5 separate regions of the Homo sapiens genome follow, and all the other regions are linked to region 3. Evidence: promoter capture Hi-C in 16 types of primary human blood cells and fetal thymus (Javierre and others, 2016). All regions are on one chromosome and are shown on one strand. The core of a region is centred on a gene start or on the middle of the fragment in contact, and the rest is flanking DNA. Distances in the headings are between cores, read along the strand shown.

What was found. Contacts are between HindIII fragments. The CHiCAGO score rates a contact against its expected background, and 5 or more counts as called.
Region 1: the fragment with the promoter of MAML1 here is called in contact with the fragment with the promoter of TBC1D9B in region 3 in 1 of 17 cell types (neutrophils); the score reaches 5.0 in neutrophils.
Region 2: a contact is called between a fragment that was not itself captured here and the fragment with the promoter of TBC1D9B in region 3, in 4 of 17 cell types (total CD8 T cells, naive B cells, monocytes and 1 more). The highest score is 6.5, in total CD8 T cells.
Region 4: a fragment that was not itself captured here is called in contact with the fragment with the promoter of TBC1D9B in region 3 in 2 of 17 cell types (monocytes and total CD4 T cells); the score reaches 6.6 in monocytes.
Region 5: a fragment that was not itself captured here is called in contact with the fragment with the promoter of TBC1D9B in region 3 in 1 of 17 cell types (neutrophils); the score reaches 6.2 in neutrophils.

The regions. Positions count from the first base shown.
Region 1 is chr5:179,731,384-179,734,162 of GRCh38, reverse strand. MAML1 (mastermind like transcriptional coactivator 1) reads right to left here and starts at 1,341. Exons shown (of 5, transcript NM_014757.5): 1 at 736-1,341. The coding sequence starts at 1,050. CANX (calnexin) reads right to left here. Exons shown (of 15, transcript NM_001746.4): 15 at 2,522-2,779. RefSeq lists silencers at 749-808, 1,049-1,248 and enhancers at 437-937, 1,699-1,798. The HindIII fragment of the contact is 11,025 bases long and covers 1-2,779 here.
Region 2 is chr5:179,750,858-179,753,557 of GRCh38, reverse strand. The region is part of intron 1 of MAML1 (mastermind like transcriptional coactivator 1); the gene reads right to left. Among named protein-coding and RNA genes, the nearest start is that of MAML1, 19 kb to the right of the region's middle. The HindIII fragment of the contact is 6,852 bases long and covers 1-2,700 here.
Region 3 is chr5:179,906,480-179,909,179 of GRCh38, reverse strand. TBC1D9B (TBC1 domain family member 9B) reads left to right here and starts at 1,283. Exons shown (of 21, transcript NM_015043.4): 1 at 1,283-1,476. The coding sequence starts at 1,359. RefSeq lists silencers at 1,132-1,291, 1,362-1,421, 1,432-1,571, 1,622-1,671 and an enhancer at 1,552-2,329. The HindIII fragment of the contact is 10,003 bases long and covers 1-2,700 here.
Region 4 is chr5:179,709,064-179,711,763 of GRCh38, reverse strand. CANX (calnexin) reads right to left here. Exons shown (of 15, transcript NM_001746.4): 7 at 1,699-1,891. Among named protein-coding and RNA genes, the nearest start is that of CANX, 11 kb to the right of the region's middle. The HindIII fragment of the contact is 1,522 bases long and covers 631-2,152 here.
Region 5 is chr5:179,667,798-179,670,520 of GRCh38, reverse strand. The region is part of intron 2 of LOC105377763 (a long non-coding RNA gene); the gene reads right to left. Among named protein-coding and RNA genes, the nearest start is that of CBY3, 12 kb to the left of the region's middle. The HindIII fragment of the contact is 998 bases long and covers 788-1,785 here.

The DNA of each region.
Region 1 (2,779 bases), core at 92-2,591, 180 kb after region 3:
TCAGGAAGAAAAACCTCTAACCAACAAATTTCAGGAACATTTACTGAGAGCCCAAAGGGAGTAATAATTGACCAACAATCTAACATCATCAGAGATTTTAAACAGGCCTGATAAATTAAAACTAGAATTGTCAACAATATTGCAGGAATCTCAAGTTCACAAAGTTCAGGCTACCTAAACAAGGAATACTTATATGCAACTCATTGAACATTTTACTAAGTTTTCCAAAAATTTCTTGATTTTCCATTCAGAGGAGTTTCAGTTGGTCAACCAAAGGCCGACTTATTTCCACATGAAAGCCCTGATCCTGCTCACAGCACAGGATCTTGTAAAGGGCAAGGACCCAATAAACATTTGCAGAATAAATGAGGCCAGGCCTACGGTGCAGGAACTCCCTCCATCACAGGCGACTCGAATGCTAGTCTATTTCGAATAAAGATCTCAACATCCCGGAATCAAGTCTGGAAGAAAAACCCTCCGGTTAGCGTTCGCCAGCCTTCCCAGGTCGGGCCTCCTGCAAGGCCCTCAAGGCGCTGTTTTCCCAAAGTAACGCCACCGTGCCACTTCCCAAAGATGACAACCTCTCAGCTCCCTGCCATGTTACCCTCTCTCCAGCCAGATCCAGGAGTCGCGGACGCCTGGGGAAGTCTCCCAGCGGCCCGATCCGCGTCAGAGGAAGCGTTTTCGGGAGAGGGGGCTGCCGCCACGACAAGCGCCTTCCCGCGCCCTACTCACCGTGGCCGGGCGGCCGTGCTCGGGGCCGTCAGCGGCGTCCAGGCGCGGGGCCGGGGCGGCGGGCGCCGGGGCCGTGGCGGCGGGCGGCTGCCTGTGCTTCCCGGCGCGCTTGGCCTTGGCCTGGATGCAGCGCTGGTGCAGGGCGAAGGTGTGTTGGCGCTCCAGCTCCAGGCGCTCGGGCGACACGGCCTCGTAGCGGGCCTCGCAGGTGCTGTGGTGGCGCCGGCACAGCTCGATGCGCCGGCGAAGGCGCTCCATGACCGCGCTGTGCCGCGGCAGCGCGAACTCCGCCATGGGGCAGGTGGGCAGCACCATGGGCCGCGGGCTGCACGGGCCGGGCCCGGGGCCGGGCCTCTCGGGGCCGGCTGGCACTGCGGGCTTCGCTCCCCGCGGCTACCCCTCTCCGCCTCACGGCCGCGCCATGCCCCCGAGGGCAGCGGAGCGGGCTCGCGCGCGGCGGCGGGTTTTCCTCCTGCCCCGCTCGGCCCGACCCCCAGCCGGCGCTTGCTGCCTACCTCAAGCCTCGGCCTCTCCCCACCGCCCCGGCCCCATTGTTTTCCGCGCTACCGCCGCGGCCGCCATCTTAAAATTGTTTTCGGGCCTCTCGGAAGAAGGCGGGGCCTCGGTAAGAGACCTTGTGCATCACGACTGATGAGCAGGGGCCCTGGCCAATCAGAGAAGGAAGAACCGGCCGCCCGAGGGCGTGGGGACGAGCACGCAAGAGGCGCGCTCGGGCGCCAGAGCGGTATTTAAAAGGAATTCTCAAGCGAAGGGCGGAGGGAAGCCCCTGGGCGGGCCTTAATCCTGGGGGCGGAGCTAAGCGTGACTGACAGGAGCCCGTCCAAGAGGCGGCTATTGGTTTCCTGCACAGCACCCGCTGAAGGCAGGCCCTTCCGGCTACCCCGAGAAAAGGGGAATCTGGCAGGCGAGTGCGGCGCAGCTGGCCAGTCCCTGTCGCCCGCCTGGCAGTACAGAGACCTTTTTTTTAAATTATTTTTTAAATTTCGACTTTGATAAACTCTAAGTAGCCACGCTATTTTAATGTCAGCCGTTTTACTTTGACCTTATTCCTTGTATCCAGCCCCATAATTGGTCAGAATCGTCTAGTGAGCTGGTAGTTTCCTCTTGCAACATTCCGAATCACTGGTAGTTTCCACCTATTTGTAAAAGCCCGAGCAAGTTTCAAAAGTGCAGTATTACTCACTACTTAAAAAAAAAGTCCAGAAGATGTGAGCAAAAGCATGCAAGAGTGCAGCTCCATTAGAGGGAACTGGAAATGCAAAGGACGACGTTTCACCACAACCACCGCCTTCCAGGCTCAAGCGATTCTCCTGCCTCAGCCTCTCCAGTAGCTGGGATTACAGGCATGCGCCACCACGCGCGGCTAATTTTGTATTTTTAGTAGAGACGGGGTGTCTCCATGTCGGTCAGGCTGGTCTCCCACTCCTGACCTCAGGTGATCCGCCCACCTCGGCCTGCCAAAGTACCGCGATTACAGGCGTGAGCCGCCGCGCCGGACCAAAAACAGTCCTTTAGGTAAAACTGAGTTACTCAACAAAACCAAACCAAGACAAATTATGCCCCATTATTAAAACTAATAGGCAAAGGGGAGTAGAGGGACTGGAGCAATCAAACAGTGTTAGTACTAAAACTAGATAGTGTGATGCCAAAGGATATCAGGAACTCTAGATATGGGCACTCTAATTGCTAAAAGGTTAAGCAGGAGGTGGCAGGAGGCTGCACATTGAGATACACCATCAGTAGTTCAAACATTCGTTACTCTAGCTTTTTACTAGGGCTCATGAGGTTTTATTTTAAAATCAAGAGAAAACAACAATCAAATATGTCTTCATACAAACGCAGCAGAAAAATACAAATCCTAATGTTTTAAATGGAGAAAGTGGGCCACCAAGGCAAAAGTGCCATAATGCAGTCCTGCTTTTTTTTTTTTAGCATTCAAACAAATTTTACACCAGAACTAAACTATTTCTTAATAGAAAAAATAGTAACTAGGAGCACTACATTCTGTGTACATACTTTTCTT
Region 2 (2,700 bases), core at 125-2,624, 160 kb after region 3:
GGCATCAATCACTCGGTGTGTAAGTCCAGAACATGCATGTACTCCTCAAACTCCTTTGACCAAGCTGGACACCCTTATTCCCTTTACAAATAAAACAATTGAATCTACTTGTCCAAATGGATCTGGGAGTTAAGTGCAGCAATTCTATCTTAAGGAGAAAAATTTGAAATATTATCAAACGTAGCACGGAGGGTAATAAAAGTAAAAACGCATTAAAGATGTCAAGATAGACTGGTTTAATTGAGTAGTGAAATCAGAAGGCAGATTGCCAGAGGCCAAAGACAGACAATGTGAATTCAGGACTCCTTCACCCCAGCACGCGCGCGCGCGCGCGCACACACACACACACACACACACACACACACACACACACTAAAAAATAGCATCTAGGATTTAGGTGAGCAAACTGAAATCAGTAATTATAAATACAGTCTTTCCTGTTCCAATGATTGTGAAGTGACAGTGAGATAAGAGTTCCACAGATGGGCCAGGTGCTGTGGTTCACGCCTGTAATCCCAGCACTTTGGGAGGCCAAGACGGGCGGATCACCTGAGGTCAGGAGTTCAAGACCAGCCTGGCCAACATGGTGAAACCCTGTCTCTACTAAAATACAAAAATTAGCTGGGCATGATGGCGGGTGCCTGTAATCCCAGCTACTCAGGAGGCTGAGACTGGAGAATCACTTGAATCTGGAAGATGGTGGTTGCGGTGAGCCGAGATTGCACCACTGCACTCCAGCCTGGGCAGCTGAGTGAGACTCCTTCTCAAAAAAATAAAATAAAATAAATGAGTTCCACAGATGAAAGAGGACATAAAGAGTAATATCCAGAGGCTGAGGCAGGAGAATGGCGTGAACCCGGGAGGCGGAGCTTGTAGTGAGCTGAGATCACGCCACTGCACTCCAGCCTGGGCGACAGAGCGAGATTCCATCTCAAAAAAAAAAAAAAAAAAAAAAAAAAGAGTATCTAATAAAGTGTTAAACTCAACACAGTACAAACGTACTCATTACTCAACAGCACTAATAGAAATATGCCAGCCACAAGTGTGGGCAAAATTTGCTAGTAGCACATAAAAAGAAACAGATGGTGCCAATTTTAATATCATATTTAACCCAATATATATGAACTTTTTAACATATAATCAGTATTTTTTGAGAAAAAATCTTAATATCTTTAATAATGTTATTTAACCATATATATATATATATTTTTTTTTTTTTTTTTTTTTTTTTTGGAGACAGAGTCTAGCTCTGTTGCCAGGCTGGAGTGCAGTGGTGCGATCTCGGCTCACTGCAACCTCCACCTCCCGCGTTCAAGCGATTCTCCTGCCTCAGCCTCTTGAGTGGCTGGGACTACAGGCGTGCGCCACCACACCCAGCTAATTTCTGTATTTTTAGTAGAGAGGGGGTTTCGCTATGTTGGCCAGGATGGTCTTGATCTCTTCACCTCGTGATCCACCCACCTCGGCCTCCCAAAGTGCTGGGATTACAGGTGTGAGCCACCACACTGGGCCTATATTATCTTTTTAACATGTAATCAGTATTTTTTTTTCTTTGAGACAAGGTCTCACTCTATTGCCCACGATGGAGTGCAGTGGTGCAATCACAGCTCACTGCAGCCCTGACCTCCCAGGCTCAGATGATCCTCTCACCTCAGCCTCCCTAGTAGCTGGAACTACAGGTGTACACCACCAAGCCTGGCTAATTTTTTGTAAAGATGGGGTTTTGCCATGCTGCCCAGGCTGGTCTTGAACTCCTGGGCTCAAGTGATCTGCCCAGTTCAGCCTCCCCAAGTGCTGGGATTACAGGCATGAGCTACTGTGCCTGGCCATAATCGGTATTTTTTTCTTTTTTTGAGATGGAGTCTCGCTCTGTCACCCAGGCTGGAGTGCAGTGGCATGATCTTGGCTCACTGCACCCGCTGCCTCCCGGGTTCAAGTGATTCTCCTGCCTCAGCCTCCCGAGTAGCTGGGATTACAGGTGTGCGCCACCATGCCCGGCTAATTTTTGTATTTTTAGTAGAGACGGGCTTTCGCCATGCTGGCCAGGGTGGTCTCGAACTTGACCTCATGATCCGCCCGCCTTGGCCTCCCAAAGTGTTGGGATTACAGGTGACAGCCACTGAAGTGAGTGCACCAAAAAAATCTGTGGTACTAAATTATCAAAATCCAGTGTGCATTTTACACTTTTAGCACAAGTCAAGTTTAACAAGGTGCATTCCACGTGCTTAAGAACCTGACCTGGCTGATGGCTACCCTCATGGACAGTATAACTATAGAAAGTAGCCAGCTGGGCACGGTGGCTCACGCCTGTAATCCCAGCACTTTAGGAGGCCGAGGCGGGTGGATCACCTGAGGTCAGGAGTTTGAGACCAGCCTGACCAATATGGTGAAACCCTGTCTCTACTAAAAATAAAAAATTAGCTACGCATCGTGGTGTGCGCCTGTAGTCCCAGCTACTCGGGAGGCTGAGACAGGAGAATCGCTTGAACCCAGGAGGCAGAGGTTGCAGTGAGCCAAGATCGTGCCACTGCACTCCAGCCTGGTGACAGAGCGAGATTCTGATTTAAAAAAAAGTAGCCTTGAACAACTAAGTTTTCAGGACAGCACTGAAGATAAGGGAAGCCCCCGGGACCTGCCGCCTGGGCCCAGCAGCAGCTCCTTACTGCACAAAGGGCTCCATACAGCAGGCACTGTGGCTCT
Region 3 (2,700 bases), core at 34-2,533:
AAGGTGTTGAAGAAAGCCCGCCTCTGCATCTTGAAAGCTGATTCCTATATCCAGCAACATTGAAGAAGACTGCAGATCACTCTGGGTGTCAACTGCATGTACCTACATCCATCGCACCAAGATTCTTGAGTGCCAATCACAGAAACCCACCTGGAAGTCAGGTCCAGCTCCAAGGATGGTTTAACTGCCCCCTTCCCTTTGCCCTCTAGCCAGACCCTGGTGAGGGTTCCAGCCAGCAGGGTGACCCCACATCCCAGTCGACCCCGGACAGGCCCCAGGCCCGTTGTCCCAGGTGGAGTTGACAGCCCCCTCATGCAGAAGGCTGTGTGTGGACTGGCGCTGCCCCTGCAGGCCAACACTGGGAGACCAGGGACCCGCATTCGCCTGCAGCCAGCCTCACACTTGCGCAGAAGCCGCCACTGGGCCCAGGGCCAGTCCAGACCCCATCCCCAGGGCCGGCCAGCCTCTGTGACCCGTCTGTCAGGGGAGGGGCAGCACTGATTTCCAAGGATGCAGCCCGTATCAGGGCCTCCTGGCACCTGCCCTGCGCTGGAAGATTCTTCTAGTCTCCCGGCCCCAGTGTCAGAATTCTGAGAACTGGCCGGGCGCGATGGTTCACTCCTGTAATCCCAGGACTTGGGAGGCCAATGTAGGCGGATCACCCGAGGTCAGGAGTTCGAGACCAGCCTGGCCAACATGGTGAAACCCCGTCTCTACTAAAAATACAAAAAAATTAGCCGGGCGTGTTGGCGGGAGCCTGTAATCCCAGCTAAAGAGGCTGGGGCAGGAGAATCACTTGAACCCGGGAGGCAGAGGTTGCAGTGAGCTGAGATTGCGCCACTGCACTCCAGCCTGGGCGACACAGCAAGACTCTGTCGAAAAAAAAAAAAGAAAAGAAAGCTGAGAATTAGGAGGAACTGCAAACCCTTTCCAGGCGCCCTTTGCAGTGCTAACACGCCCCGGGTTGCACGCGCAACCAGCCAAAAGCCGCCAAACTCTGCTTCTTGACATCCTTCTCTCACACTGCACAGCTTTCAAAACGCCAGAAGCCCTGCTCTGCACAGCGGCTCCCCTGTCTGCGGACTGGGCCGTTCCGTTCTGGACCCAGGCCGGAGGCCGTGGGCTGCACCGCTCCAGGAGGCCAGGCTGGCGCGCGCCCGAGGCCGGGGCTGAGGGGGCGGCGCGGAACTCGGGCCGCGTGCGGGAGCGCCACACGCCCGCCAGGGGGCGCCGCCCGCCCGGCCCCGCCCCGCCCCGGCCCGCTCCGCACGCTCCGCTCCGCACGCTCCGCTCCGGGACGCCGACGGCGGCGGGCGCTTCCGTCTCGCGGGCCTCGGCCCGGTGCGAGCGGCTCCGCGATGTGGCTGAGCCCGGAGGAGGTGCTGGTGGCCAATGCGCTGTGGGTGACGGAGCGGGCCAACCCCTTCTTCGTGCTGCAGCGACGCCGGGGCCACGGCAGGGGCGGCGGCCTTACGGGTGAGAGGCGCGCGGGCGGCCGGGCCTGTGGGCGCCGCGGCTGGGCTGGCGGCGGGGCTGGCGGCGGGCGGCGGGCGGGTCCGGTTCCGGCCCGGCCTCGGCGCGTCGCGGCGGACACGCACGCCAGCGCGCGGCGGGGCGGGGGCGCGAGGCCAGGACCCGGGAGCCGGGCGCGGAGGGGCCGGGGCGGGGAGGCGAGGGGCTGGCGGGAGGCGAATGCGCCCTCGGCGGGCTCTCCTCAGGTCGGCTTGGGGCGGCCAAGTGGAGACCGGCGGCGGCTTCTGCCCGGATTCGGCGCCCGCGAGCCCCGGGGGCCGTGCAGCTTCCCGGGATCTCACCGCCGAAAGTTGGCGAGACCGCCCTGTCCTCATCCTCCACCTCAGTTTCCCCAGGTGCCTCTAAGGGGCCAGGTGACGCCAGCGCACGTTTTCTTTTGCCCTCTTCTTCGTGCCCATCTCACCAAAGTATCGCCCTTTTAGCAAGATCAGAGGTCCCTGGAGCTGGCCGCACCCCCATTCCCCCAGCTTCTCCTCCCCCACCTTTCCTGCTCCTGGCTGCTCTCAGAGCTGCGCACCCAAGGCTGTGGGTAGCGGCACAGGGTGTTCCTGCAAGCTCGCCAAGGTGGCCCTTTGTGGGCCCGGGTGCCACCATCACACAGGATGAAGCTGGACAGGCACCCTTGGAGTCGTGCGGCCTGTGGGATCCAGGGGAGGCCCACAGGCCACTCCCTCCGCAGGTGGTGTCCGGGGCCCCTCATGCTCCAGGGCCTGCGCCCAGCACTGCAGGAGCCCGGCTGGCTCGGGCTCAGTGCCTGTGCTCTTCGGGGCACCGACTGTTGCCCTACAGGATTGCGGTCCCAGTGTTGCCAGGTCGTCCAGTTTATCAAGAGCATTTTCTGTGAATCATCCTGATTTTCAGTGTGAGCAGCTAATAGCCAGATGCAGACGGAGGCTTCTCCTGGGCCACGTTTCTTCATGTGGAAGAGACTGTTCTGTTCCCAGAAACACTCAGTGTTCCCTTCAGCTTCGGGTTCCCTCCCAGTGGGCTTCAAGGATCTCGGGCTCCTGTTCTGGACCCGCCTCCTAGATCCAGCTGTTCAGTCGGCAGCCCCTGTGGCTAACCTCGAAGCTACTGCAAGCCCGATGAAGAAAGCGAGGGACCGGCACCTTTTCTTCCGCCAGCGCGCCAGGGTGTCATCAGCGCGCCAGTGTGTCATATTCGCTG
Region 4 (2,700 bases), core at 142-2,641, 200 kb after region 3:
CAGGCTGGAGTGCAGTGTCACAATCTGGCTCACTGCAACCTCCGCTTCCAGGGTTCAAGCAATTCTCCTGCCTCAGCCTCCTGAGTAGCTGGGATTACAGGCACCCTCCACCATGCCCGGCTAATTTTTGTATTTTTAGTAGAGATGGGGCTTCACCATGTTGGCCAGGCTGGTCTTAAACTCCTGACCTCAGGTGATCCGCCCACCTCGGCCACCCAAAGTGCTGGGATTATAGGCACGAGCCACCATGCCTGGCCAAAAACACCTATTCTATTCTTAAAATTATCTCGAACCTCAGTTCCTGTGGAAAAGAAGTTTTTTGGGTTTTTTGTTTTGTTTTTTGAGACAGCATCTCACTTTGTCACCCAGGCTACAGTGCAGTGGCAAGATCATGGCTCACTACAGTCTCGACTTCCTGGGCTCAAGCAATCCTCATACCTCAGCCTCCTGAGTAGCTGAAACTACAGGCACATGCCACTATACTCAGTTAATTCTTAAGATTTTGTAGAGACAGGGTCTGACTATGTTGTCAGGCTGGTTTGGAACTCCTGGACTCAAGCAATCCATCCGATTCAGCCTCCCGAAGTGTTAGGATTACAGGTGTGGGCCACCATACGTGGCCAAGAAGCTTCTTTTAATGCTGACAAATTAAGGTCATTTCCCAACTAAGATACTAAAGTGAAGAGATTCTTTTCTTTCGTGGAGGGGGTACAGAATCTTCCTCTGCCACCCAGGCTGGAGTGCAGTGATACAATCTTGACTCAACTGCAACCTCTGCCTCCTGGGTTAACGTAATTCTGCTGCCTCAGCCTCCCGAGTAGCTAGGATTACACCAGCTACTCAACACCACGCCCAGCTAATTTTTGTATTTTTAGTAGAGACGGGGTTTTACCATGTTGGCCATGCTAGTCTCGAATGCCTGATCTCAAGTGATCCGCCCGCCTCAGCCTCCCAAAGTGCTGGGATTACACGCATGAGCAACCATACCAGGCTGAGATTCTTCTTGTTTGGAGGCTGGGGTACTCTCCAGATATACAATCTTTTTTTTTTTTTTTTGAGATGGAGTCTTGCTCTGTCTCCTAGGCTGGAGTGCAGTGGCGCGATCTCGGCTCACTGCAAGCTCTGCCTCCCGGGTTCGTGCCATTCTCCTGCCTCAGCCTCCCAAGTAGCTGCGACTACAGGTGCCCACCACCACGCCCGGCTAATATTTTTGTATTTTTAGTAGAGACGGGGTTTCACCATGTTAGCCAGGATGGTCTCGATCTCCTGACCTTGTGATCCACCCGCCTCGGCCTCCCAAAGTGCTGGGATTACAGGTGTGAGCCACCGCGCCCAGCCTTTTTTTTTTTTTTTGAGATTGAGTCTCACTTTCGCCCAGGCTGGAATGCTGTGGCACAATGATCTTGGCTCCCTCCCAGGTTCAAGCAATTCTCCTGCCTCAGCCTCCCAACTAGCTTCGGTTACAGGCGTGCACCACCATGCCTAGCTAATATTTGTATTTTTAGTAGAGGTGAAGTTTCAACATTTTGGCCAGACTGTTCTCGAATTCCTGATCTCAGGTGATCTGCCCATCTCGGCCTCCCAAAGTGCTGGGATTACAGGCGTGAGCCACAGTGCCCGGCCAGATATACAATCTTTAAATTAAATGGATGATATATATGTAATACCATAAGCCCCCAAACTAATGCTTTTTCTTACTTAGTGTGTAAAGATGTGTTTTCTTATCAGTAAAATAGGTCTTCAGATCTGCATCTGGCCTCTTAGCATGTTTTTCTTCATAGATACCCGTTTTGGGGTTTTTGTGTCGGAAGATGAAGTGCAGTTTATAGTCCTCTCCACATTTATCTGGACCAAACATAATCGTATAAGGGGTCTTGTCATGGAACTGATCCTTCAAAAACAAAAAAGGATTATTTGAAGTCACTGTACTCAAAGTGTTCAAAAGCAACGTTTCAAAAGTGTATGATAATTCCTCTTATAAAATTCCAAATATATTAGTGACAGTTAAAGGAAAAGCTAACTACAAGTTTGTTTAGTAAAAAGGAATAACCAGCAATCATCAGTAAATTTAAAATAACGTTTAAGTGTCTAAAAAAAAGTAATGCACACATCTAGACAGTTATTGCTTCCTCATAAAACAAAGAAATAAGCTTGCCAAAACTAAAACTTACACAGAAGCAAAACCAGAAATTCAGATAAAAACAGTTGGTAACAACTTTGTAATTTACACTTCAAATAAAAAGCACGTTAGCGTCAAAGTCAATTTTCCCAACTCATCAAAAGAGTTAAACAGCAGGGGAGGAAGCCTTTATTTTCACAATTATTACAAAATTCTCTTTTTTTTTTTTTTGAGATGGAGTCTCGCTCTGTCGCCCAGGCTGGAGTGCAGTGGCGCAATCTCGGCTCACTGCAAGTTCCGCCTCCCAGGTTCATGCCATTCTCCTGCCTCAGCCTCCCAAGTGGCTGGGACTACAGGCGCCTGCCACCACGCCTGGCTAATTTTTTGTATTTTTAGTAGAGATGGGGTTTCACCATGTTAGCCAGATAGTCTCAATCTCCTGACCTCGTGATCCGCCTGCCTTGGCTTCCCAAAGTGCTGGGAGCTAGGATTACAGGCGTGAGCCACTGCACCCGGCCCAATTACAAAATTCTTACAAGGTAATAGTGGGTGTCCAGCCACATTCCAGAAATGGGAATTAC
Region 5 (2,723 bases), core at 37-2,536, 240 kb after region 3:
TCCTACCTCAGCCTCCCAAGTAGCTAGGATTACAGGTCTGCACGACCACGATTGGCTAATTTTTGTGTTTTTAGCAGAGGTGGGGTTTTGCCATGTTGACCGGGCTGGTCTCAAACTCCTGACCTCAACTGATCCGCCCACCTTGGCCACCAAAGTGCTGGGATTACAGGCGTGAGGCACGATGCTTGGACCTCTCCAAGTACTTCTAGAATGAACAAAGCTCCACAAGAGATAGGCACCTGAATCCAGAGGAGCAGATACTGCTTAGCCATTGTCACAGATTTCTGCACCCTTAGGAGGCAGGAGAGGTGTCCAGGATGCTGTTGGGACTTCTGGTTATATCTGGTCAGCCCTGCTCTGACTGAAGCTGCAGCTGTGGCTCATGGTTCTGTACCCTGGGTCACTCTTCCCAATCTCTCTCCCCATGTTGACCAGGCTGGTCTCAAACTCCTGGCCTCAACTGATTCACCCACCTTGGCCCCCAGAGTGCTGGGATTATAGGCATGGAATTACATGGATTACAGTTTCCTGGAATGTCCCAAGTTAACTATGCCGAAGTTCCAGGATCAAGCTCTGTTTTTGTGAGGATTCAAGCTAAGGCAATGAGTAATAGAGGTAGCACTAGAAGACAGACCTAGCGATAGGAATCTAAAAGTAGATCACTTACCATTCGGAAGGCAACAAAGACACACACACACACACACACACAGTTGGTGATAACCTTGTGTCCTGAAGCATGAGACTCTTACCTGTGGTAGATAAGGAGATAGAAGTTGAAGAGAAAGCTTGGCTTATGCAGTAGCTTTGTCACTTGAAAGATGTGGAAGCAGCTGCTGTTGCAAGGATTATGGAGGTGGCTAGCTTTTCTAAATCACCTTAGCAGCTTTGAAGCAAGAGAATGAAAGATGCAGTTCAGCCTGCTATCTACTCAGAGTATGCTGTGAAAGGCAGGAACTCTCCCAAGACAACATGTAAAGAAAACCTTGCTTCCGTGGCCAGGAGGCAGAGCATGCTGAAAATGAGAACCAATATTTCATCACAAGAGCAGCAGAGCTGCAAAAGACACTTGTGCATCCTCAGCAGGTCTCCTGTACTAAAGTGGGGGCTTCTATTATTTTTATTTTTGTAGAGACGGGGATCTTGCTATGTTCCTCAGGCTGGTTTCGAACTCCTGGCCTCAACTGATCCACCTGCCATGGCCTCACAAACTTCTGGGATTACAGACATGAGCCACAGTAACCGGCCCATTGGGTGCTTTTAAAGGAATAAATGGGACTCTAGGCCTGACGTGGGATGTTTGGGTGGATGTACCAAAGAACCTTGAGCCCCCAGAGTCCCCTGAAGCATCCTGGCCAGCAGAAACTGCCTTCTTCCCATTGACAGAGGAGGACAGCTTCATCTAGCCTGGAGACAGTGCAGAGATCTCCCCGTTACAGGTGAGTACCCTGTAAGATAACACTAATCCTCCTCAAGATCCACCTCCTCTCATTGCCTCCAGACCAACAAGCAGGATCACATCTCAGCATAGCCCAAGCAGTGAAATATTTCCTACCCTAGGAGGAAATCACTCAGTCACCCAAAAAGTTGCAGGACCTGGGAGAACACTTGCGGGAGCGATCATGAGGGTACCAGATCCAGGTGGGGTACCAGATCCAGGCGGGGAGGGGGCAATAGAAGACCGGTGGGGCATTGATTGACAAGGGTGCATGCCCCAAGACTCAGGATTTAAAGTCCTGTCAAAGGACAGCTGGAGCTTGTCTTCACGCCAGACGGCTCCCGGAAGCTTGGACACCATAGTGGCCTACCATTAATGAGGTAGAGATGAAGGCTCAGGGAAGTGGGAATGTTAGAACGGATTTATTACATGAGACCAGAAGGTGTTTCATGGAGCTGCCCAGAGGAGGCGCTCTTCACTAAGGCAATGCAGAATGTGGACGTGAGGGGGCACTGGTGTCATAGAAAGCTGGTGGTGGCTGTGCTCTGTGGCTAGGAGATGCTGCCATGGAACTTGGCTCCTTAGTGTCTTGGGGATGACACGATTCTGGAATGGCATTTAACCATTCTGGATGGCAACATTTAACCCTCAGAAGCCAAGAGGGCTCTTATACTGTGTAGCAAGATTGGAATGGCAACTGTGGGAGGGGGAGTGCTTCTCAGGGATCTATGGCAATGATGATAATAGGTCATTGATGGGCAGCCAACCAAAGAAAGGGAGGCAGACAGTGACTGACAGAAAAGGTTGGGAACAAGGATGAGGGTCATGCTGCAGAGATCTGACAGTCTTCCGCTGACAGTGCCATACCCCTGTGGGAAAGACAGGAAAACCTCCAAATTAACTGAAATTCAGTTTCTACCACTACATTAGAGTGGCAGGTTTGACCTACAGATTGAATTACAGAAAGATATTTTAGGCCAGGTGCAGTGGCTCACGCCTGTAATCCCAGCCCTTTGGGAGGTTAAGGCAGGAAGATCGCTTGAAGCAAGAAGTTCAAGACCAGCCTGGGCAATATAATGAGACTCCCATCTCTACAAAAAGAAAATCAAAGAAAAAGAAATTTTGTTTTGTTTTTGAGAGAGTCTCGCTCTGTCACCCAGGCTGAAGTGCAGTGCTGTGATCTCAGCTCACTGCAACCTCCGCCTCCCAGATTCAAGTGATTCTCCTGCCTCAGCCTCCCAAGTAGCTGAGATTACAGGCACCCGCCACCACGCCTGGCTAATTTTTT